Linked DNA regions of Homo sapiens: all the other regions are linked to region 1. Evidence: promoter capture Hi-C in 16 types of primary human blood cells and fetal thymus (Javierre and others, 2016). All regions are on one chromosome and are shown on one strand. The core of a region is centred on a gene start or on the middle of the fragment in contact, and the rest is flanking DNA. Distances in the headings are between cores, read along the strand shown. Region 1 holds the start of POLR1A (RNA polymerase I subunit A). Region 2 overlaps TGOLN2 (trans-golgi network protein 2). Region 3 holds the start of RETSAT (retinol saturase). Region 4 holds the start of SH2D6 (SH2 domain containing 6). Region 5 overlaps PARTICL (promoter of MAT2A antisense radiation-induced circulating long non-coding RNA). Region 6 overlaps GGCX (gamma-glutamyl carboxylase). Region 7 overlaps VAMP8 (vesicle associated membrane protein 8).

Region 1 (3,063 bases), core at 217-2,716:
TTTCAAGTTTCTGAGATCAACTCTTTCAAGTCACACTATTTGTTTCTCATGACCTTAAAACAGAGATCACAGTTATTTTGAGAACGGATGCTGAGGAAGAGATTCTGCTTCAGGCAAAGAAAATGAGTAGAAAAATGCTAACGATGGCTACCAGGAAACGGAGGACTGGCATTGAATGGCAGCACAAAGGTTTCTGCAGTATCAGATGGAGTGGTTTCTCTTTCTTGAGGGGAACTAAGGGAGAGTACATATAAAAACATATTGTAAATTACATACCCCACTTATACCTCACAAACTTTTCGGATGGTTATTACCAACTCTAGTCTGCAGATGAGGAAATCTGTCTATTATCATCCAATTAAGTGAATGGCAAACACTAAACCTAAAATTAGGCTTTTAGCAAGTTTTCACTACAAATTACTGCCTCTCATATTCCCACAATGCCACTGTTTGTACTGAGTGAAAAAAAAATTACACAGATAGGTCATACATGTTCCAAGCTATAACTATCACAGATCAAAAGGGCATAGTCAGATCTTTTAGACTTTTCTGCTTTTACGAAAACCTGATAACTTCTTTAGCCAAAGTCCCCACGGTGGCGACCAGAGACTGCCTTTTATTTGGGAAGATCTTGTACGTTCTCCTCGCTCCTCCTGATTGGGTTAAAATGAGTAATGGCGGATAATTTTTAATTTGGGGTAGTGTTGCTAATAGCCACACTCACTGGAACGCAAGCTTCATGAGAGCAGGGTCCTAGCTTTGCGGATGGTGTTAACTACAGAATATTGCAAGCAACCAATAAGTATTTCTCTAATGAATAAATGCGTTGCGAATCCTATTTCAAAGGGCCACCTCCGCGTACCTGGTCTTAAGGGCACGCGACCGTTAAGGGCGCGCATGAGCAAACCATTTCATCGTGCCTACTTCCACAGCCAGCTGGGAAACATAGGACTAAGGTGACTCCGCGGTCTTCTTCGCGGATACCCTAAGCGTCTCTTACCTGCAGCTGCGTGCCTGTTCACACAAACCCGCCCGCCGACCCGTCAGCGGCTGGCCAAGCCTGCTGCGGAGGCCCAGCCAGCGAACAGCAGATACAACCGCCATCTTTGATTTCTCTGCAGAGCATGTTGGGAAAGCGTGCCTCGACCTTCAGGAAGGTGGGGCGCAGTGGGCGGGGAGCAGGGAACAGCTCCGCTATTGGCTGAAGCGGAAGAAGACGAAAGCAATCATAAAATGGGAGGTTGCAAGCTCATGGTTTGAAAGACTTCGTCACGGAAGCTAAAAGCTCTATACACCCGATTTGCCTCGGAGGAATTTTCCTAAATGATTATTTTGATGTCTTATATATCTTTGATTGTTTTCAAAACAAAAGAGCGAGCAGAGAGTCGTACAACTATTTGTTCCCCCCCCATGTAGAAGTGATCTCATCCACGTAAATGTCGTTCCTGCGACCGCTTCCGCGCGCAAGCGCACGTTGAATCGCGTGGTGACTCCGGGCTTGAGGTTGAATTAAGAATAGTCAGGTGGTGAGTGGAACGTCTCTTGGGGTGTCGGAATTCAAAACGGACCTGGAGGATGTTGATCTCCAAGAACATGCCCTGGCGGCGGCTGCAGGGCATTTCCTTCGGGATGTATTCGGCTGAAGAGCTCAAGTAAGGAGTTGGTCGGGTAGCGTGCCCAGCCTGGATCTTGAGGTCGGCGCCCTAAACTACGATTCCCAGAAGCGCTTTTGCCCAGTCTATCCTCTTGAGTCCAGGCTTGTCTGGCGCTTGTCCTGCTGGGAGCCGTAGTTCTGGGAACGTTCCTGGGCCGGCGTGGACTGCCTGGATAAGAGGCCGGTGGTGCTGGGGGAAAGAGTTTGCGCTGAGGTAGGGGAATATAAGGGTGGGGAGGGTCCTGGTCTGCAGCGTTATCATCTGCCAGTCTCCTCGTTAACTAACAAGCATTTGTGGAATTAACCATAGTGTACCTGACATGGTTAATTAGGCACGTAGTAAGTTTCCTCTTGTTTGTAAAATGATTGTCCTTCAAGTGTCAGTTCAGGCGTTAACTTCTCTTTGCTAGGACCCTGCTATATTCTCGGTCTGGTTGTTAAATCAAGGGAACTCTCTTTAGTCTTCATTTTGATCAAGGTAGCATTTGACATTCTCCAATGCACTCTCTTGAAACTTTCCTTTCTTCCAGAACCTTATTTGTCTTCAAGTTCTCCTATTTTTATGACAAATACTTCTACCTCCCTCTCTTCCTCTATCGATCTATAACCTCACAAACATTTATTGAGCATCCAGTTTTTTCCAGGCACCAAGCTAGGCGTTAATGACACATTGGTGAGCAAGGTCTGTACCTCATTTTACTCCTTAAATGTTGATGTTCTTCAAGATTCTATTCTAGTAATGTTTTCTTCATGGTAAATATTGTCCCTAGACAATCTCACCACTTTCATGATTTATAGTCTCAAATTTAAATCCCCAACGCAAATTTATTTCCCTGATTTTCAGACCCATTTGTTCAGCTGTCTGTACATCTTTAATTGAATTTCACACAGAGATCTTAAATGCATATCAAAAACTCAACATGGCCTAAATGCATATCAGAAACTCAACATGGCCGGGCACGGTGGCTCACGCCTGTAATCCCAGCACTTTGGGAGGCCGAGGCCGGCGGATCACGAGGTCGGGAGATCGAGACCATCCCTGGCCAACATGGTGAAACCCCGTCTCTACTAAAAATACAAAAATTAGCTGGGCGTGGTGGCGGGCACCTGTAGTCCCAGTTACTCGGGAGGCTGAGGCAGGAGAATCGCTTGAACCCAGGAGGCGGAGGTTGCAGTGAGCCGAGATTGTGCCACTGCACTCCAGCCTGGCGACAGAGCAATACTCTGTCTCAAAAAAAAAAAAAAAAAAACTCAACACGGCATCCCTCTTCAAAGGGAGGGGTTACTTACCCCTCCAAAATGGTGTACGTAGTGCAAAATAGTCACTAGAAACTGGAAAATTATTCTAGATCTCTCCTGACATATAACTTATTTATTGGGCTCTTACTTTGTGTCACCTACATGTCTAT
Region 2 (3,063 bases), core at 403-2,902, 780 kb after region 1:
AGGAAGGAGTTGATAGATCTTTGACTGTGTACCTTTGAATAAATCAAACAGACTTCCTCCCACACGCTAGAGCTCAGACAGCCTTCTATTTGTTATTTCCTATTAAGCAATACAAAGGATTCTGATGTAATTAGGCTCTGTCTTTCTTAAAATGGTTATAGTTTAAATAGACCTCTGTGAGTGTACTGCTCTTTCTACAGTCAGGGTCATTAACAAATATGCTACCAGGTGACTGCCTCTGAGTTCAGAGACTGAACTATGTCATTACAGAGCCACCTGTTAATCATTTTCTTTTTCCTTTCCTCAGATCATTGCTTTTGTCCTGGAAGGAAAAAGATCTAAAGTCACCCGGCGGCCAAAGGCCAGTGACTACCAACGTTTGGACCAGAAGGTAAGGAAGGAGGAGCCAGGTCCATGGGAGGGATAGGAGGGATAGGCAACGTCAGATGGACCCAGTAGTGGGCTTGCATTTGCCATGAAGCAGCAGTGGCTGATTCTGGGGATGCGGTTGCTGTTGCTGTTGCATTCGCCCTTTTTAGACAACAAACTAGAAACATCTAGATACACATATCTGTGACGTTAGAGCTAGCAGAGACCTTGGAATACTCTACAGCAGCTACCTCCCTTCACAGATGAGGAAATAGGCCCACGCAGAAACACTCTTTTTTTTTTTTTTCCGCTAAGTTTCTACTGCAAGTTAGTGGCAAACTCAGGACCTGATAGCAACTCCCTAGTCTCCCAGTCCTGAGCTTTCTGCATTCTGCCAGCGCTCCATAAACTTTAATAGGCATTTGAATCACCTTGGGGAATTTTGATAAAAAGCATTATCTGATTCATTAGATGTGGGGTGGAGCCTATATTTCTACATTCTTTTTTTTTTTTTTGGAGATGGAGTTTTGCTCTTGTTGCCCAGGCTGGAGTACAATGGTGCAATCTCGGCTCACTACAACCTCTGCTGCCTGGGTTCAAGCGATTCTTCTGCCTCAGCCTCCCGAGTAGCTAGGATTACAGGCGCCACCACCACGTCCAGCTAATTTTGTATTTTTAGTAGAGATGGGTTTCTCCATGTTGGTCAGGCTGGTCTCGAACTCCCAACCTCAGGTGATCCGCCCGCCTCGACCTCCCAAAGTGCTGAGATTACAGGCATAAGCCACCGTGCCTGGCCTGTGTCTACATTCTTAGGAAGTTCCCAGGTGAAACCAAATGCCACTGGATCCACACTTTGTGTGGTAAAGTGCTAGACTGTGCTCCCTGGAAACACGAGCCTGGAAGCACATAGGCCTCCAACTCCCCACATCAGCCTGGCTTAAGCACCGTAGGCTGGAGTTCCTGAGTACAGCCAATCCATTCCTCTGTCAGACAGATAAGCCCTCCTTCCACCCCATGGCAGCAGAGCTAAGCAAGGGTCTCTCTAAAGACAACCTGTCTAAGCAGGAAGACTGTACTCTCACTGCGTTGCTACCAGCATGCACCCTTCCTTCTGCTTTCAGCATAGCAACAGCCAGGACATTGGCAAAGAACCATTGGTGGCCCAACTATGAATTGTTCCCAGACTTCCTGCAGGGAACACGATTCTCTTGCACAACTCAATATTAGCTACAGAACGAGCCACTGAGCTCAGAATATCTTTGCTAACTAGTCCAGTAGGCTAGCTTTACAATTTAGCTCTGGACTACTGCCTTTTCAGATAATTGACTTTAAGGGTTTTCCCCCTTTTATGATTTTTGTTTGTTTGTTTTTGAGACGGAGTCTTGCTGTGTCGTCCAGGCTGGAGTGCAGTGGCACAATCTTGGCTCACTGCAACCTCCACCACCCGGGTTCAAGCAGTTCTCCCTCTTCAGCCTCCCGAGTAGGTGGGATTACAGGCGCCCACCACCACGCCCAGCTAATTTTTAGATTTTTAGTAGAGATGGGGTTTCACCCTTTTGGCCAGGCTGGTCTTGAACTGCTGACCTCAAATGATCCACCCACCTCAGCCTCCCAGAGTGCTGGGATTACAGGCGTGAGCCACCACACATGGCTTATGATTTTTAAAAAAATACACATGTGGCTGGGCATAGTGGTTCACGCCTGTAATCCCAACAGTTTGGGAGGCAGATCACCTGAGGTCAGGAGTTCTAGATCAGTCTGGCCAACATGGTGAAATACCATCTCTACTAAAAATACAAAAATTAGCTGGGCATGGTAATCCCAGCTACTACTGAGGAAGCCGAGGTGGGAGAATCGCTTGAACTTCGGAGGCAGAGGTTGCAGTGAGCCAAGATCATGCCACTGCACTCCAGCCTGGGCAACAGAGCAAGACTCCGTCTCAAAAAAGAAGAAAACCACCACCAACAAAAAACACATGTAAATAATTCACAACAGTACAGAACAGTATGAAGCAGAAGCCAGGATTCCTCTCTCTCCATCAAGTGTATATCTTTCTAGTGTTAGGTTTCATTTCAAACTTTAAAAATCATTTTGTGTGCTATTTTAATTAATTGCTGTTTCTGTGGTGGTGGGTCAGTATGTCTTAATTCTGAATGTTTTCCCTGCACCTCCTAAAAGATCTTTTTTCCCCTAAGTCCTAACAGAATGGTATATTCCTCTGGAAAAAGATGAACGTCACCAATGGATTGTGCTGCTCTCGTTTCAGCTTTGATTTTTTTGTCCTTGAGAACCTTGTCCTCCCTGCTGATTTGTTTCTAAATCAAAAGAAATGAAGAAAAAAGTACTGTGACCTGAGAGACACCCTCCTCTAGAATTTAGTGGCGGGTCTGGGCTGGCAGAGGTAGGGGGCTGCTTTGGGCTTTGCACCTGCACTTTGGTGACATTGTTCTTCTGTGTTCCCTTTATTTATGCTGGTGGCTTCCATCCGTTCCTCCTCTGAGGGTGAGTGGAGGGGTATATGGAAACACGGCTATGACCAAAGGGAGATCCCAGCCTGGGCAGGCTGCGCTGCTGACCACCCTCCCTGGGGCCCGGGCTCTGTAGGAAAGTTGGTCCTTGACTGTGGCATTGCACTCTGCACTGTTTCTCTCTGCAGACCTAGGGGAAAACTGCAGGTGGAAGTGCTTTTCTACT
Region 3 (3,063 bases), core at 564-3,063, 750 kb after region 1:
AAGTGCTCAGGCTTTGTTTAGGCCTCACACACAGGCTGGGTCAGGGGCTTATAATACTAGACCTGGTTCCAACAATGGTAGAAATTCAAAATGCAACACGATGTTCTAACCTTTCTCAGTTATCAGCAATACTGTGCATGTGGCAGCTGGCTAGCCAGTTTGGGCAATTCTAAGTCTTTCATCTGACATTGCTTCCCTCAGGAAAAGGGCTGGACAAGGCTCATACCTCATCACAGGGGAATTGGACATCCGGAATGTCTGTCACATCAAAAATTGCATCCTAAGTGGGCAGATGGCCCACACACAACTGACAATCATAGTTCACAACTTTGGGTGACTAAGGAAGGAGGGTAGCCTCTCTATGAGGTCAGCCCTCCAGGATGCCATAAAAACTGGCTGCTGGTGTCAGGATGCTTTGATTATTAACACTGAGAGGAAGAATACCTCCTGGCTCTTGGGCTTGACATGTGGCTCACTGTAATCCGGGGGACAGGGCAATGCCCCCTTAGTCCTGGCACCCCAGGAACTAAACTGCTCTCACTGTGGCCTCTGGGGCCTCAACATCTGCCTCCCCTTTCCTTTTCCTCCATCATGGCCTCCATGACAGCCTATGACAAAACACACATTGGCCAGCCTTGGCAAGGTGACAGGCGGGTATGGTAATAGCAATCTCAGGAGGGCTCTTCTGTTGCTGTGTAGAAAATGAACCAAGTAGCATAGAATCGTGACCAGCTTTCCACACCTGGCTGGAGCACTCCTGGGGCCTTCAGTAGGGACAGTTACTATCTGTAGCAGAGAAGAAAAGAGCAACAATTCCATTAAACAAGGAAGTACTCAAAGGCAAATTCCTGATAGTTGGACCTAAGGAAACGGCCTTCCTGTAAAAATGGATCCTTCTCCAATCAAGTATTCATTATGCACCCTCTTTAGGCAAGGAGGGGGTATGATTCTTCAACTGCTTGCTGGAGGTTAGATTCTCTGCATAGGAATTTAAATTAGATGGGCCCTTAGCTGATCCTTTCACCATGCTTGTCCATGGGCGGCTCCCCGTCCCCCAGGTTCCCCACGGATGGGGTGTCATTAGGGACCCGCCATAGAGGACTCCGTCCCAGGCGGGCCCCCAGGACAAAACTATGGGCCACTTTGAGGGGCACAGAGACAGACGCTCACCGGTTGTGATGCGCAGGTAACAGAGAGCTCAATTCATCATGACAACCAGTCAGACAGGGGCTGTGAGCAGCCTTTGGACAGAACTTTCGCATAGCCTGGAGGCGTAAGACGAGGAAAGCAATTTAACACCTCAAGGCAGCGAGTCCAGGGCAGAGCCAGGACCAGAACTCAGGACTCCTGTCTCCCAGTCGGGATTCTCTTTCAGTCTTACAACTCTCGGCCTTGTCTCGCCCCATAGTGATAATTTCCACCGGATCACATTCTCCCTCCCTCCTCAGGCCGGCTGCTAGCTCCGCACAGGCACCAACCACTCCCCTTGGCAAGTGTTAACGCGTTCTCACCGTTAAAAGAGCTTTCCAAACTTGGGGGTCCCGCCGCCTCGGCTAGGCCTCATCTGCTCATGCGCACAGCCGCTTCCGTGCCGGCTCCCCTGGCCCCGAGAACTACATTTCCCAGTAGGCAATGGAAACCCAAAAGAAGTACGGAGAGCCGGGAGGGTCAATCATCACCTGAGAGTTGGCTCTTCGCTGGCTGGCTGGTTAATCAGTGCTCAAAGCTGCCTCCGCCTCCTGACTGGAGAGCGAACTAGCCCGGGCGGAGCCACAGTCCTAGAGGCTGAGCGCAGTCGGAGCTGTCCCATTTACCCGACCCGACGCCGGCGTGATGTGGCTTCCGCTGGTGCTGCTCCTGGCTGTGCTGCTGCTGGCCGTCCTCTGCAAAGTTTACTTGGGACTATTCTCTGGCAGCTCCCCGAATCCTTTCTCCGAAGATGTCAAACGGCCCCCAGCGCCCCTGGTAACTGACAAGGAGGCCAGGAAGAAGGTTCTCAAACAAGGTAGCAGGAGGGACCCTGGGGTCCGGGGCTGCACTCGAGGCTTTCTCACAGATTTGGGTTCTCATTTTGCCAAGGCAGCCGCTACCAGACGTGGGCCTTAGTTTCCCCATATGTAAAGTACTAGGAGGGCTTCCTTGCACGTGGAGGAGCCCCGCTTTAGTGTGCAACACTGTCGATAGCCTTTGCCCTAGTAGGCCCCGGGAATAGTAGTCCCAAGGGTGTGGTCATTGTCCTTGGTTTGCAAGGTGTTGGCACCCGCCCTGCCACTTGTAATCCCCGTGGCTCGTGGAACTGATAATCCCCGTGACTCATTCCTCCACTTGGTTCCAGGACCTTAACTTTTTCACCTACCCTCCCATGCGAGCTCAGGGGTGTGGGGGAGCAGCACAGAAATGCGTAGGAAATTGCGTTTTGCCCGTCCGGTGATTTAACAGGCTTTGCATGGTCCCAAATCGTAAGGATTGAACCCTAGTTCTGAAACATTGGCAGAGGTTCAACAAGGCGCCTCAGGCTCAGAGCCTGCTCTCCACTCTCATCTTTAAAACATATTTTGTGGTTGCTTCTAGAGTTTAAAGAGTTCTGCTGCTTTAAAAAATAATGGATCACCTGTTTGATCTACGGAGTCCCTCTCACTTGTAAATTTTAGAATTCTCCGTGTCATATCTTGCTACACAATCGGAGACAGTACTGTTCTAAGTGGAAGGACTAATCATCTGGACTTCTGAGAACTGAGTTTTAGCTTGGACTCTGTCACTAATTTGCTGCATAACCATTAGCACCTACCTGGGCTGGTCTAAAAATGAGATGACTAGCTTAACTGCTTTTCAAACCGGATTGTGATCTATTAGTGGGCTATGAAATCAATTTAGTGAGTTGCAACTGGCATTATTTATTTATTTATTGAAACAGAGTCTCGCTCTATTGTCCATGCTAGAGTGCAGTGGCGCGATCTCCGCTCACCGCAACTTCCGCCTCCTGGGTTCAAGTGATTATCCTGCCTCAGCCTCCCGAGTAGTGGGCATGCCCAGCTAATTTTTGTATTTTTAGTAGAGACAGGG
Region 4 (3,063 bases), core at 197-2,696, 690 kb after region 1:
GCACTCCAGCCTGGGAGACAGAGCGAGACTCTGTCTCAGGAAACAAACAAACAAACAAACAAACAAAACAGAACGGGCTCTTATTAAAGAGTCCAGGGACTGAGTCAATAGCTGTCTCCAAGTTTCTATGGTACCTATCTCTCCTCTCTAGGGGCAAAAGGGCTACTCAACAAAAGGCTGATTGTTTTAACAGAAACACTCAGAAAACCAAACCTTTGAGAACTTCCCAGGCAGAAATAGGCATGCTTAGAGACCACGCGACCAGTTAATATGAACCCCACATCTGCTATCAAGAGAATCTGGGCAATCTACTTTGAATATCCCTTTTGGAGCTGTTTCTAGGTGTTTAGAGATCAAATGAAATATTTCTAGGAAGTAGCTCGCCTCGAACTAACCACACAAGAATGAAATCTCACTGACTTACAAGGTCATGGCTAAACCTTCATTGACTAGGTATTTTCCTCCTTCCTTGATGATCCAGTATGTAGCAGTATATGCCCAGATCAGGAAGTGTAAAAGCTGAAAATGGAGTTGGAGACAGAAAGTCCAATGTGTTGCTGGCCACTGTGGTGTCACTGCTCCCGATACAGGTGTAACCTGAGTCTCCCGCTTGGGAGCCAGAAATCAGCTGAGAAGAGGCCTCTGGAAAGAGGCTGCCCTGGCCCAGAAGGGTGGATGAAGTAGGGCCTCAGCACAGCTCATCCTACCGAGCAGGCCGGACCCTGAGTTCCTGGCTTGCACTGAAGGGTCTGGGTAAGTCCCTTCTGTAGCGCCTCAGAAGCTCCTTGGGCAACCTGGGAAGTTAGGACAAGAGCTCTGACATTTGACCCTGAGGTGTGAGGAGAGTGCTTTGAGAGAGAGGATGCTGAATGCGAGCGCCCTGGTTATTACCTCCTGGCAGCCTCCTAACCTCACCTTGACTCTGCCATGTAAAATTGATGCCTGGGCGCAGGGCGCCGACGATGGTCAGATACCGCGGCCTGCACACCCTGGGACCTACATCCCTGACCTGGAGGACCCAGGCCTTCCCCGGGCTTCACCACGAGTCCTGCCGGCCACACAGGGACCCTAACAGACCTAGTCCAGTCTCAGGGTCTGGGCTGCTCCTCCTTCCAGGAATGGGAGTTTGCTCTAGGCGATGGAGGAAGGGTTCAGGAGGCCACTCTGCCTGCTTAGCAGGCTGTGGGCCCAACCCCCCACCCACCATCTTCATCTCCCACGGCCCCAACCTCGTAGGGAGGGCAGGGCGGGGCTCAGGTTCGCAGAGAAGGAGGGCTCGGACCAGCGACTCCAGGGCAGAGGGGCGCGTGCAGGGGTGGGGAGCTGGGTTTGCGAGGAGAGAAGGCCATCTCTTCCCCAGCAGGGTAGCCCCCACCTAGCTACCGGGATCCCACCCTGGCTGGCGCAATCTTTGCGTCCGGATCAGCACCCAAGGCCCCGCCCAACGGCCCGCTGCCTGCCGGGATTTGTAGTTTGTAGGGGAGGGGCCAAAAGGCGCGCGCGCGCGCGTGTGTGTGTGTGCGTGTGTGACTGTGTGTTTGTGAGACTGTGTGTGTAAGTGTGTCCGGGGGTCTGTTGTGGTGCTCCCGTCCCCGAGGGCCCTCCGGACCTGGGCTCAGCAAAGGCACCACAGGCCGCAGCTTCCGAGACCCCGCCCCGCGGCCCACTGCCTGCTGGGATTTGTAGTTCTTAGGGGTCTAGGGCCCAGGCTGGGGCCGGGTTGGGGCCTTACACGCGTCCTGGCGTGTGGCTCTCCTGCGTCCTCGTTTTTCTCGTGAGCCCTGGATCTGGACAGTGGGCCCGGCGCGAGGCCCTCAACTCCGGCTGGGCTCCCGGTGGCACTTTCTGCCGACCCTGAGATGTACCCGCCACGCCTGCGGGACTGACCTCTAGGTGGGCAAACCGAGGCACAAAGAGGGGCGCGCTCTGGCCGGAGTCGGCCCTCTTGTGAGAATTTGGGCTGGGAGACCCAGCCCAGGCCTGGCAGGCAAGGCTGGGTCAGGCGAGGGTCCTGGGCCCTTTCGGTGTAAGAGTGTGCAAAATAATGAACAGGCCTGCCCAGGACTGGCTCTGCACATTAGCGCTAGTTACCTTACAGGCTTGACTGATCAGATTTTTATTTGGCACCACTACAGAGGGGAGCCCAGGGAGGGAGGAAGTCTCTCGTGACCAAGAAAACCTATGGTCCACCCTGGCCTACAACTCTGCTTTAACGACAAAAATAAACCGAGTTTGGGAGGGGGTGAGGAGGAGGGGTGTTTTGTAAACTGTGAAGTCCAGGTTATGAGTGAGGTGTTATTATCATCAGGATCAGACCTCAAAGCACTGGAGGAAAGGTCTGGGCCTTCAAGAGCCTCACCTCAAAAGGGAGGGTATGGCCGGGCGCAGTGGCTCACGCCTGTAATCCTAGCATTTTGGGAGGCTGAGGCAAGCAGATCACCTGAGGTCAGGGGTTCAAGACCAGCCTGGCCAACATGTCGAAACCCCATCTCTACTAAAAATAGAAAAAATTACCCGGGCGTGGTGGCACGTGCCTGTAATCCCAGCTACTCGGGAGGCTGAGGCAGGAGAATTGCTTGAACTCAGGAGGCGGAGTTTGCAGTGAGCCGAGATGGTGCCACTGCACTCCAGCCTGGGCAACAGAGCCAGACTCTGTCTCAAAAAAAAAAAAAAAAAAAAAAAGAGCTGAGATAGCTGTTTGCATGTGAAAGGACTCACAACTGGCACTAGCATGCGGTGATAGTGGGGAGGGCATGGACTCCCACTACATGGCTCCCATCTATCCTCTGCCGCTTACTAAGTGGGACCTAGAACAAGTGATTTTGACCTACTTTATCTCTCTTTATCTCTGTTTCCTCATCTGTCAAAGGAGGATAATAAGAGGATCCATGTTAGAGAGTAAATGCAAGGATTAAATGAGAAAATCATATCAAGGATAGCACCTGGCATATAGTGGCAGCACACAATAGTGTTAGCTGTTATGGTGTTGAGTACCCAGTGTGACGCTGGCTGTACAGGGGTAAACTTGTCTTCTGGGGGACTAGTCCCCCCATCCCAGGCACC
Region 5 (3,063 bases), core at 245-2,744, 570 kb after region 1:
TGGCCGGGATAGCTTTCCCGGAGGTCGCGTCCCCCAGCGGAGGCGGCGGGAATCGCGGAGGTTTTGTGCTGCGGCTGGGGTCTTTCTGGCCGTCCCGCCTCTAGATGCCGGGTGGCAGGGAGCCGGTGGCGGTCGGCCATGTGAAGGTGGCCATCTTGGCCGGCCAGCGAGGGCTCCTCACGGCCTTCCTTCGGCGTCCCTGCCCGGCTCGTTGCCGGCCCCGGGATATCTGAGGGGCGCAGGCCCACCTTCTAGTCGTTTCCTGGTGAATGGCTCTGCTGAAGATGGCCGGAAAGCAGATTAATGAAGGTGCTGCCATCGATTTAAACAATCGCCCTCCTGCCCGCTCCCCTGCGCTAAAGTTTCTGAGGGATCCTCACCCTTCGTGGTTCGTGGACTTAAAAGTGGAGGCAGCGCTCCAGCCTTTCCCTCCAGAGAGAAAGGAGGCCGCTCCCAAGTCCGTCCTTGCCCCGTGGCCTTCCTGTTCCTTTGAAGGGGGGGGGAATCGATGTTTCAATCCTCTGTTCAGGAGAATATGGAACGAACATTTCTTTTTTGGTGGGTGGGGGCTATTCGTTCCCTTGAATGTGCTTAAGCAGATCTCTTGACGGCGTGGAATGGGCTGTTTCATGAAGCTTTCACTTTAAAATGTCCACCTGCGTTTGTCCCAGTTTTGCCCAATAAAGGAATTACAGGGAAAAAGAGCGAAACAAAACTTGAGCCAGCAAGGAGTATGGAGTCCCGTTTGGAGGGAGCCCGCCTTGGGGGCGGGGGTCTCTGCAGCCTGTTCTGGGGCTGGGCCTCGGTGCAGGTCTGGTCGGGCTGGTGGCCTGGTGGCCCTGAGCGGAGCGCGTGACAAGAACGCCGGGTTTAATGAGGTTCTCAGGGAACGGCCTGCTCCTAGCATGGGATGTACTTTACGCTGGGGAGGTGAAGGAGACCCCTAGTAACAGTCTCCAGCTGCCTACTGCTGGCGGCAGTAGAACAAGGTGCATTCCCAAGAACAATCCTCTCCGTCGGTGCAGGAGGAAAGGTGGGATTTGCTAAAGGCTCAGTGGGAAACAAAGGAAGCACTTGGGCTGTGCTGGGGGCATCCACAAAGAAGATAAAGGGCTCCTCCCCAGACTCAGTGACCACATCCACGGTCGCTCAAAGCAGGCAGCAAGAAAAGGTTCGACCACAAAAGAGACAATAGGTGATGATATTTTTATTCGTTGCTTTTTACTTTTCAAGCTAACCCTTCATGGGAAAGTAACTGTATAAGACTATTAAATTTTTTTGTTATTTTTTAAAGGAGAATGCCAATTTATTAACTTACAATGTGTAATAAAATTGTCAACTGGAACAAAATGCGTGTGTAGGCTGGTCAGTGCATTATCTCCCAGCAGAAAAATCTATATGGGAAGCCAGAATATAACTAGAAGGTTATTTTATTAGGGAGTCAGAACAAGGAGCGTAAAGTCAATGATTGGCTCATTAAATCCTGATACCCCTGTGCTACCAACTCCACAGTGGGGCTAGGCCTGCCAAGGAGATGAGATTTAGCTGTACATAGTTGCTTACCTACTTCTCTCACTTGTGAATAGTGTGTAGGTGTAATACAGTAAGAGTAGGGGTTTGGAGTCACGACCTCTCTATGCATCAGTATCCTCGTTCTGTAAAATTGGAATATTAATAGTACATCATAGGATTGTTTCAAGGATTCAAATAGTGCAAGTAGAGTCTTTAGCACAGTATCTAGTACATAATTTGTTTTAATGTAAGCTGTAAAAAAATTAACTATATTTGCTGTGAATTACTTTTCAGTGGCTTTCAATTGCTGTCGGGATACGGACTAAAATCTCTACATACTCAAGGCCCCAGTGTGATTTGGCTGCTACTTCTGCAACCTTACCTTGTGCCACACTCTCCTTTCTGTGTTCTACTTGGATTTTTTAGTTAGTAGCAGTTAATTTTATTAATTTCATAGTATCAAAACAAAGGAGGACACATTTTCATTTATTTTATATTATTCGTATTGTCCCTTCCTCCCTTCCACAAATATTTATGAGCACATCTGTGAGTCAGACCCAGGAGCAAATGCTATAACAATCCTGGTCTCTGCCCACTCGGCGCTCTAAATGTGGGGAGATGCCTGGCTAACTCCTTATCCTTCTCACTCCAGCTCAGCTACCACTTCCTGGATGAAGCCTTCATCTACACAGATTTGTCACAGGGGCCTGTGTTTTATTTCATGGCACTAAGTGCAGTTTCAAATTATAGATTTGGTGATTATTTGATGAATGTCTCCAATTCCCAGTTAGGCTTGTAAGCTCCATGATAATGAGAAGGTGGGCTGTTTTGCTCAAGCTTTGTTACTGAATGCCTGGCACACACAAGGTGCTTAGAAATGTTCAAGAGGGAGAGACAAGAAAGGAAGGGAAGGAAACGGAAAATGAACGAATATAAAGATGGCAGAAGGGGGCGGGGCACGGTGGCTCACGCCTGTAATCCCAGCACTTTGGGAGGCCGAGGCGGGGTGGATCACGAGGTCAGGAGATCCAGACCATCCTGGCTAACACGGTGAAATCCCATCTCTACTAAAAATACAAAAAATTAGCTGGGCGTGGTGGCGGGCGCCTGTAATCCCAGCTGCTTGGGAGGCTGAGGCAGGAGAATGATGTGAACCCGGGAGGTGGAGCTTGCAGTGAGCTGAGACCGCACTACTGCACTCCAGCCTGGGCGACGGAGCAAGACTCCGTCTCAAAAAAAAAGATGGCAGAAGGAAGCAGAGAAATGAGAGACTCTGGCGATCATGTGAAATCAATGGAAAGAGGTCCTGCTTTGTTTTAGTCGTAAGCATTGTAATTAATAAAATTAAGACTTCTTTGTTAACAGGGAAGCACATGGCCATCCTGTTCTGACAGGAATAAGATTTCTGATTTCATAGATGCGTGTCCTAAGGGTGAACTAAACCAGGAGAAATTGTTGGTTTATTTCCTGTTTATCGTTAATGAATTTGTTGAATGTGAAGTGTTGTAAAGCACGTAGGAAAAATCTAATCACTGCCTAAAGGCTTCAGAT
Region 6 (3,063 bases), core at 349-2,848, 550 kb after region 1:
CGGCCTCCCAAAGTGCTGGGATTACAGGCATGAGCCACTGTGTCCGGCCTATTTGTTAATACACACATACAAAACCCCTTTGGTAAAACTTGAAACTCATTCAGAATGGCCAGCTCTGATCATAGAGAATTAAGAGGCAGTTTTGATAGAATATCTCTGAAAAGTTCCGTTGTGGGGATATTTGTTGAGATGGCATCTCACTGTGTCGCCCAGGCTAGAGTGCAGTGGCGTGATCATAGCTCACTGCAGCCTCAACCTTCTTGTGTTTAGGTGATCCTTCCATCTCAGCCTCCTGAGTAGCTGGAACAACAGGTGTGTGCCACCACACTCAGCTAATTTTTAAAATTTTTTGTAGAGATGGGATCTCACTATGTTGCTCAGGCTAGTCAGAAGTTCCATTTTTATGACTTTATGCATTTTGAAAAAATCACTTATCATTTATTCAGGGTTTTCCACATCGCAGGCACTATACTAAATATTTAGAGTTTTTCCTCATTAAAACCCTGTAAGGTCGATGGTGCTGTTCACATTTTATGTTTTTTGGAGTCAGGGTCTTGCTCTGTCACTGAGGCCAGAATGCAGTGGTGCAGTCATAGCTCACTGCAACCTCAAACTCCTGGGCTCCAGAGATTCTCTCGCTTTAGCTTCCCAAAATGTTGGTATTATAGGTATGAACTACTGAGCCTGGCCTGTTCACATTTTAAAGATAAAGAAGCTAAGTATTATTGACGAGTGAAGAATTTGCCTAAGGTCAGCTAGCAGTTAAGAAACAGAAGTGAGTCCAGGTGTTCATGACTGCAGAGTCCAGTGCTCTTGACCACAGTGTAAGCTGCCCCTTTCCCAGCTTCTACTTCTTGAAAACTTGCTTTGCTTCTGCTTCCCCAGAGTACATCTGGTGTTAGTAGCCTGGGTCTAATCAGTTCTCTTCCAGAATACAAGCTGTTAGCAGGAACCCTCTTATACTGGATCCTGGCACCCAGGTCTATGAAATGTTAGTTTATGTTGTGTGTTACTCTGCTGTTGAGGGTTTTCATTTTTTTTTAAAGATAATACACCGCATATTTATTTACACATACATAGCTTTTCAAACACTCCATCAAATTCCTCCCCTTTTTCAGTAATTTTCTAGTATTGTAGTCCTTTTTTCCTGATTTGATCCATTAGAACAAACTCAACTGGGAGCTAACAAGAAATACTGAACTTTTTGCTGTTATAACTTAGTAGCAATATTTCTTCTATGACTTGTATAATCATGTTAGAATTTGCTCATATAATTCTAAAAGGTCTCAGAATAACCAGGGAGGATATGGGAGATGTGCCCAGGATAGATAGGATTATCGTGTATAAAAGGAAGGATGGAGATGTAGCTGCATTAAGCAGCTCCCCCCTCAATGTTTACCTCCCTCGGTGTAGGTCTGTGGACGGTCTGCTGAATGCCCATAGGAGGAATGCCCACGTGCCCCTTTGGAACTATGCAGTGCTCCGTGGCCAGGTACAGCATTTTAGGACAGAGGGAGGAGCTCCTTGACAGCCATGTGGTCAGCATGGCCATCCCACTGCCAGACTACACTCTCCGCTGCCTCCCTGGATCTTCTGTTTTTAGTTTTTACCCTTTGCTGGAAAGCTAGGCTGGCTTCTCATTTTTTCCAATCCCTTAATCTCTGAATTATCTTATTTGTCAAGGAAAGACTAGAGCTTTGTCCCTGCTAGATTGGAATCCTCATGACAAAGAGAAAGGATTCAGTCTGTGCTTTATGACTTCTTCCTTGGTGCCTGATACTGTCGCTGACATTGGTTGGATGTCAATAAATGCTGTTTGGATGAGGCGAATTTCTGAGATGAATGAATAGAAGATGGGGTCTATTCTTCCTTGGGCCCTGGACTCAGATCAGTATTTATTTTATTCATTTAAAAAATATATATAAGTAGATTATTTGGGTCAAGGACTGTAATATTTGGGTCAAGGACTGTAACTCAGGAGCATGGATTCAAGTTGTCCTAACTATATGCTCCTTATTTTATTCTTGCCTATCTGTAGAAAAGATTCTTTTTGCTTGAACTTTGTGTCACATTTTATTTTCAGATCTTCATTGTGTACTTCATTGCGGGTGTGAAAAAGCTGGATGCAGACTGGGTTGAAGGCTATTCCATGGAATATTTGTCCCGGCACTGGCTCTTCAGTCCCTTCAAGTGAGTGGCAGTCATGGTGGAGGCCTCTTTGAGGCATGGGTACAGAGCAGGTGACTCATCTCTCTCAGTAATGGCACCTGTTCCTACTTTGCCTGAATTTGCCACATGCCTTCCTTTGTCCACTCATTTCCCTATTCAGCAGAAGCAGAGTCAGTGGTATCAAAAGATTGAGCCCTAGCTGCTCTTGGGAGATATATGGTATAGATAGGCAAGAAAGGAAAAGAAATTTAAAAAGGAAAGGAAAGAGCCGGAACTGGCTGACTTGGTGAGTGAGCCAGTGCCCTCAGCAGCTGCCTTGGATGGTGCCTGTGTCCTTGCCTTGCCACTCTAGCCTCCCATCAGAGCCCTGCAGCTGATGTACTGAGAAGATGGGCACTCACTGTTCAGGCTCTGACAAAACCATTATTATCACTTCCACAAAACAAAGGGTCACCTTTCTGATTTGTCTTCTTCCCATTTCTTCTTTCCTCTTGTTTTACTTTATTCTCTTTCTTCTTCCCTGTTATTTTCCAGTTCCTGAAGTTTGACTTCATTATGATGTTAGCCAAGCATTCACCTTTTAAAGTGTCCTCTCACTCATGACCTCCGTGGGGAACGTCCCTTCCACAACACACACACATCTCAGTCAAATTTTGTCCTAGGAGATCTGCCCTTGCTTATTACATAGGATATGTTAGAAAACATTGAACACCTAAAGTGTGTGAAAATGTAGAGGGGGCTGGGCATGGTGGCTCATGCCTGTAATCCCGGCACTTTGGGATGCTGGGGTGGGAGGATTGCTTGAGCCCAGGAGTTCAAGACCAGCCTGAGCAATATAAGACACTGTCTCTACAAAAAAATTTTTTAAAAAAACAGCTAGGCGTGGTGGCACGT
Region 7 (3,063 bases), core at 404-2,903, 520 kb after region 1:
AGAACCCTCCCTGCAAACCAAGGCGGACTGGGCACTGGAAAAAGTGACAGTGATGGTGGAACCTGGTAGGGAGGAGGGGGGCCTGAAGACAGAAAGGCTTATTGTGCACAGAGGGGAAGAAGAGCCATTGGCCCTGTCCTGTGACACTGACTGACTGACTGTGCCCAGCCATGGGATGCCAAGGAGAGATGCTTGCCCCCTCAGGACAACTGAGACCCAGAGGCCTTGCTAAGTCCCAGAAGACAAGGACAGAGAAAAGACAAATAAAACATGCAGAAGCACAAGGAAAGGAATAGCAGTCCATTTCCTCCACCCCTCGGCTCTAGACTACAGGGTCGTTGAAGAGAGATGGCTCTGGTGGAAGAGGCAGGAGGATTTCAACCAGCTTCATGCCTCAGCTAACAATTCCAGAAGAAGAGTACTACAGGGCCATGGCAGGACCCAATGGGAACACTTAAAAATCTTGCATACCACCCCAAAATGCTATGAAGGTTTTGAACTTTCCATATGCCAAGACTCCCAGAAAATTCTTGTTCTTGAGACCTGTGACAATGAATGGAACTGGGAGGAATAAAGACAGGGTGGGGGCTCCAACTTTCTTCTCCAAACATATACTCTTTGCCCTTCCAACAACTTGGACCTCAGATGAGAGAATTTTAGCCAGAAGGTATCCTCAGGAAGAAAAGAAATAGAAAAGCCAAAGGCAAAATGGGAAGAGAGAAAGTGCCTCACACATATAGGGATACTGAAAGGTCTTTATTACCCACTGGCCACCAACAGTTTCCCAGCCACATGCTGGGCCCTCTAGGTCTCTCCAGCCCACTCTAAGGACCCAAGAAATGCAGCCACAGTCCATCTCTCTTTTTTCTCTCCTTCCGGGGGACCAAGGTACCTTCTGGGGCATACAACATGGCAGCAGGGCCTCGGGAAGAGGGGTAGGAGGACCGAGCAGCATTCTCTGTAGAGGAAGACAGGAAAGGAGACCCTCTTGGCACACATTTATGGAGGGTTGTCCCTGAAGAGAAGGGCAGGTGGGAGAGGTTCCCTGTTACTTAAGAGAAGGCACCAGTGGCAAAGAGCACAATGAAGAGGATGATGATAAAAACAATCACGCAGATAAGGACAATCATCTTCACGTTCTTCCACCAGAATTTTCGAGCCACCTTCTGCGATGTCGTCTTGAAGTGCTCAGACTGTTGGGGAAAAGGCAGAGTGAGTGACCCAGTGGCTCCTCCCACTGGAACAAGATTATAAGAGTACAAGTGCAGCCCACAGGCCATACTTTTTTTTTTTTTTTGAGATGGAGTCTCGCTCTGTCACTCAGGCAGTGGCTCGATCTTGGCTCACTGCTGCCTCCACCTCCTGGGTTCAATTGATTCTCCTGCCTCAGCCTACTGAGTAGCTGGGATTACAGGTGCCCACCACCACGCCCAGCTAACTTTTGTATTTTTAGTAGAGAGGAGGTTTCACCATGTTGGCCAGGCTGGTCTTGAACTCCTGACCTCAGGTGATCCACTCGCCTTGGCCTCCCAAAGTGCTGGGATTACAGGCGTAAGCCACCACGCCTGGCCTTGTTTGTTTGTTTTTTGAGACAGTGTCTGGCTGTGTCACCCAGGCTGGAGTGCAGTGGCACAATCTCAGCTCACTGCAGCTTCCATCTCCAGGGCTCAAGCAATCCTCCCACCTCAGCCTCCCTAGTGCTGGGACTACAGGCACATGCCACCACGTTCAGCTCAAGCCATACATCTTAATACTGACACTGTAAGCTGAGGTAACAAACTGCTAAATAAAAGATGCTCTGGCCGGGTGCGGTGGTTCACGCCTGTAATCCCAGCACTTTGGGAGGCCGAGGTTGGTGGATCACCTGAGGTCAGTAGTTCGCGACCAGCCTAGCCAACATTGTGAAACCCCCTCTCTACTAAAAATACAAGAAAATTAGCCGGGTGTGGTGGCAGACGCCTGTAATCCCAGCTACTTAGGAGGCTAAGGCAGGAGAATCACTTGAACCTGGGAGGCGGAGGTTGCAGTGAGCCGAGATTGCGCCATTGCACTCCAGCCTGGGTAACAAAGCAAGACTCCATCTCAAAAAAAAAAAAAAAAAAAAAAAAATGCTGTATCTGCCTACCTTGACAAATGTACCTTCCTAAAAATCTGGAAGGCCGGGTTGAAATTTAGAATTCTCAGGATCCTAGGAGGTCTCCACCTAGATATGACTAGGGGTCCCCTTTCTCTTCTTACCCCTGCACACTGAGGGGTCCTCGACACCTGCTTACACCCAAGGGTACAACACTGGCAGCAAAATCTGCCCTTGGGAGGGCAGACCCTGGGACTGAGGGGTGCAGGCTCCAGGTGGGCACATCTCGCAGCTCCAGGACTCCTTGCCCCATCGGGACTGCTGAGGCTGGAGGAGGGACCAGGACAGGATAGAGGGTTGGAAGTAAGGGAACTCCTCCTCCTCCACCCACTCTTCCCCATGCCCAGCAATTCAAGTTATAGACACTAAATTTCCTGGGGCTTGTCCAGACATGGTGGCTCAAGTCTGTAATCCCAGCACTTTGAGAGGCCAAGGCAGGTGGATCACCTGAGGTCAGGAGGTCAAGACCACCCTGGCCAACAAGGCAAAACTTCGTCTCTACTAAAAATACAAAAAATTAGCCAGGTGTGGGGGTGCACACTGTAATCCCAGCTACTCAGGAGGCTGAGGCACGAGAATCGTTTGAACCCAGGAGGTGAAGTTTGCAGTGAGCCAAGATTGCACTCACTCTAACCTGGGCAACAGAGTGAGGCTCTGTCTAAAAAAAAAAAAAAAATTCCCGGGGCCATGCTCCCCAAATTAAGCTACAATTAAGCTACAGAAACAGGCAATGAGCCCCAGGGAGACAAGGGAGCAATACCCAAGAGCCAAGAGTTCACACAGGACTCAGAAAGCCAGAGCCAGCCTCCCCGCTGAACACAGAACTTGAGGCTCCAGACTTTGCTCAACTTTGGAGTTACTTCCTCCCTGAAACAGCTGGCCTCAGCCCCTGGCTGGAGAGAGAGAAGAATGAGGTCTAGCAAGATGTG

Evidence for each region. Contacts are between HindIII fragments. The CHiCAGO score rates a contact against its expected background, and 5 or more counts as called.
Region 2: a contact is called between a fragment that was not itself captured here and the fragment with the promoter of POLR1A in region 1, in 1 of 17 cell types (fetal thymus). The highest score is 6.3, in fetal thymus.
Region 3: a contact is called between the fragment with the promoter of RETSAT here and the fragment with the promoter of POLR1A in region 1, in 2 of 17 cell types (monocytes and neutrophils). The highest score is 9.2, in monocytes.
Region 4: the fragment with the promoter of SH2D6 here is called in contact with the fragment with the promoter of POLR1A in region 1 in 4 of 17 cell types (fetal thymus, neutrophils, megakaryocytes and 1 more); the score reaches 6.0 in fetal thymus.
Region 5: a contact is called between a fragment that was not itself captured here and the fragment with the promoter of POLR1A in region 1, in 1 of 17 cell types (fetal thymus). The highest score is 7.5, in fetal thymus.
Region 6: a fragment that was not itself captured here is called in contact with the fragment with the promoter of POLR1A in region 1 in 2 of 17 cell types (monocytes and neutrophils); the score reaches 6.6 in monocytes.
Region 7: a contact is called between a fragment that was not itself captured here and the fragment with the promoter of POLR1A in region 1, in 2 of 17 cell types (monocytes and fetal thymus). The highest score is 5.6, in monocytes.

Annotation. Positions count from the first base shown.
Region 1 is chr2:86,104,289-86,107,351 of GRCh38, reverse strand. POLR1A (RNA polymerase I subunit A) reads left to right here and starts at 1,466. Exons shown (of 34, transcript NM_015425.6): 1 at 1,466-1,652. The coding sequence starts at 1,576. It overlaps PTCD3 (pentatricopeptide repeat domain 3), which reads right to left and starts at 1,117. Exons shown (of 24, transcript NM_017952.6): 1 at 1,001-1,117. The coding sequence starts at 1,104. RefSeq lists enhancers at 807-1,066, 1,447-1,656, 1,857-1,946. The HindIII fragment of the contact is 4,349 bases long and covers 738-3,063 here.
Region 2 is chr2:85,322,243-85,325,305 of GRCh38, reverse strand. TGOLN2 (trans-golgi network protein 2) reads left to right here. Exons shown (of 4, transcript NM_006464.4): 3 at 308-391; 4 at 2,565-3,063. The coding sequence ends at 2,570. Among named protein-coding and RNA genes, the nearest start is that of TGOLN2, 4.2 kb to the left of the region's middle. The HindIII fragment of the contact is 5,598 bases long and covers 1-3,063 here.
Region 3 is chr2:85,353,278-85,356,340 of GRCh38, reverse strand. It overlaps RETSAT (retinol saturase), which reads left to right and starts at 1,813. Exons shown (of 11, transcript NM_017750.4): 1 at 1,813-2,005. The coding sequence starts at 1,834. ELMOD3 (ELMO domain containing 3) reads right to left here and starts at 1,572. Exons shown (of 14, transcript NM_001135022.2): 1 at 1,512-1,572; 2 at 1,171-1,265; 3 at 743-786. RefSeq lists enhancers at 1,116-1,175, 810-1,309, 1,346-1,745, 1,310-1,811. The HindIII fragment of the contact is 19,367 bases long and covers 1-3,063 here.
Region 4 is chr2:85,417,097-85,420,159 of GRCh38, reverse strand. SH2D6 (SH2 domain containing 6) reads right to left here and starts at 1,446. Exons shown (of 24, transcript NM_001394463.1): 1 at 1,230-1,446; 2 at 916-1,131. It also overlaps a transcript of CAPG not described here. RefSeq lists enhancers at 1,826-1,985, 1,464-1,999, 1,996-2,105. The HindIII fragment of the contact is 6,915 bases long and covers 1-3,063 here.
Region 5 is chr2:85,535,749-85,538,811 of GRCh38, reverse strand. It overlaps PARTICL (promoter of MAT2A antisense radiation-induced circulating long non-coding RNA), which reads left to right. Exons shown (of 1, transcript NR_038942.1): 1 at 1-1,345. Among named protein-coding and RNA genes, the nearest start is that of PARTICL, 1.6 kb to the left of the region's middle. RefSeq lists enhancers at 27-236, 637-726. The HindIII fragment of the contact is 1,714 bases long and covers 638-2,351 here.
Region 6 is chr2:85,554,611-85,557,673 of GRCh38, reverse strand. It overlaps GGCX (gamma-glutamyl carboxylase), which reads left to right. Exons shown (of 15, transcript NM_000821.7): 5 at 1,414-1,492; 6 at 2,084-2,190. Among named protein-coding and RNA genes, the nearest start is that of GGCX, 5.4 kb to the left of the region's middle. The HindIII fragment of the contact is 9,525 bases long and covers 1-3,063 here.
Region 7 is chr2:85,579,706-85,582,768 of GRCh38, reverse strand. VAMP8 (vesicle associated membrane protein 8) reads right to left here. Exons shown (of 3, transcript NM_003761.5): 3 at 738-1,193. The coding sequence ends at 1,053. Among named protein-coding and RNA genes, the nearest start is that of VAMP5, 3.2 kb to the left of the region's middle. RefSeq lists enhancers at 1,153-1,806, 1,807-2,461, 2,462-3,063. The HindIII fragment of the contact is 4,412 bases long and covers 1-3,063 here.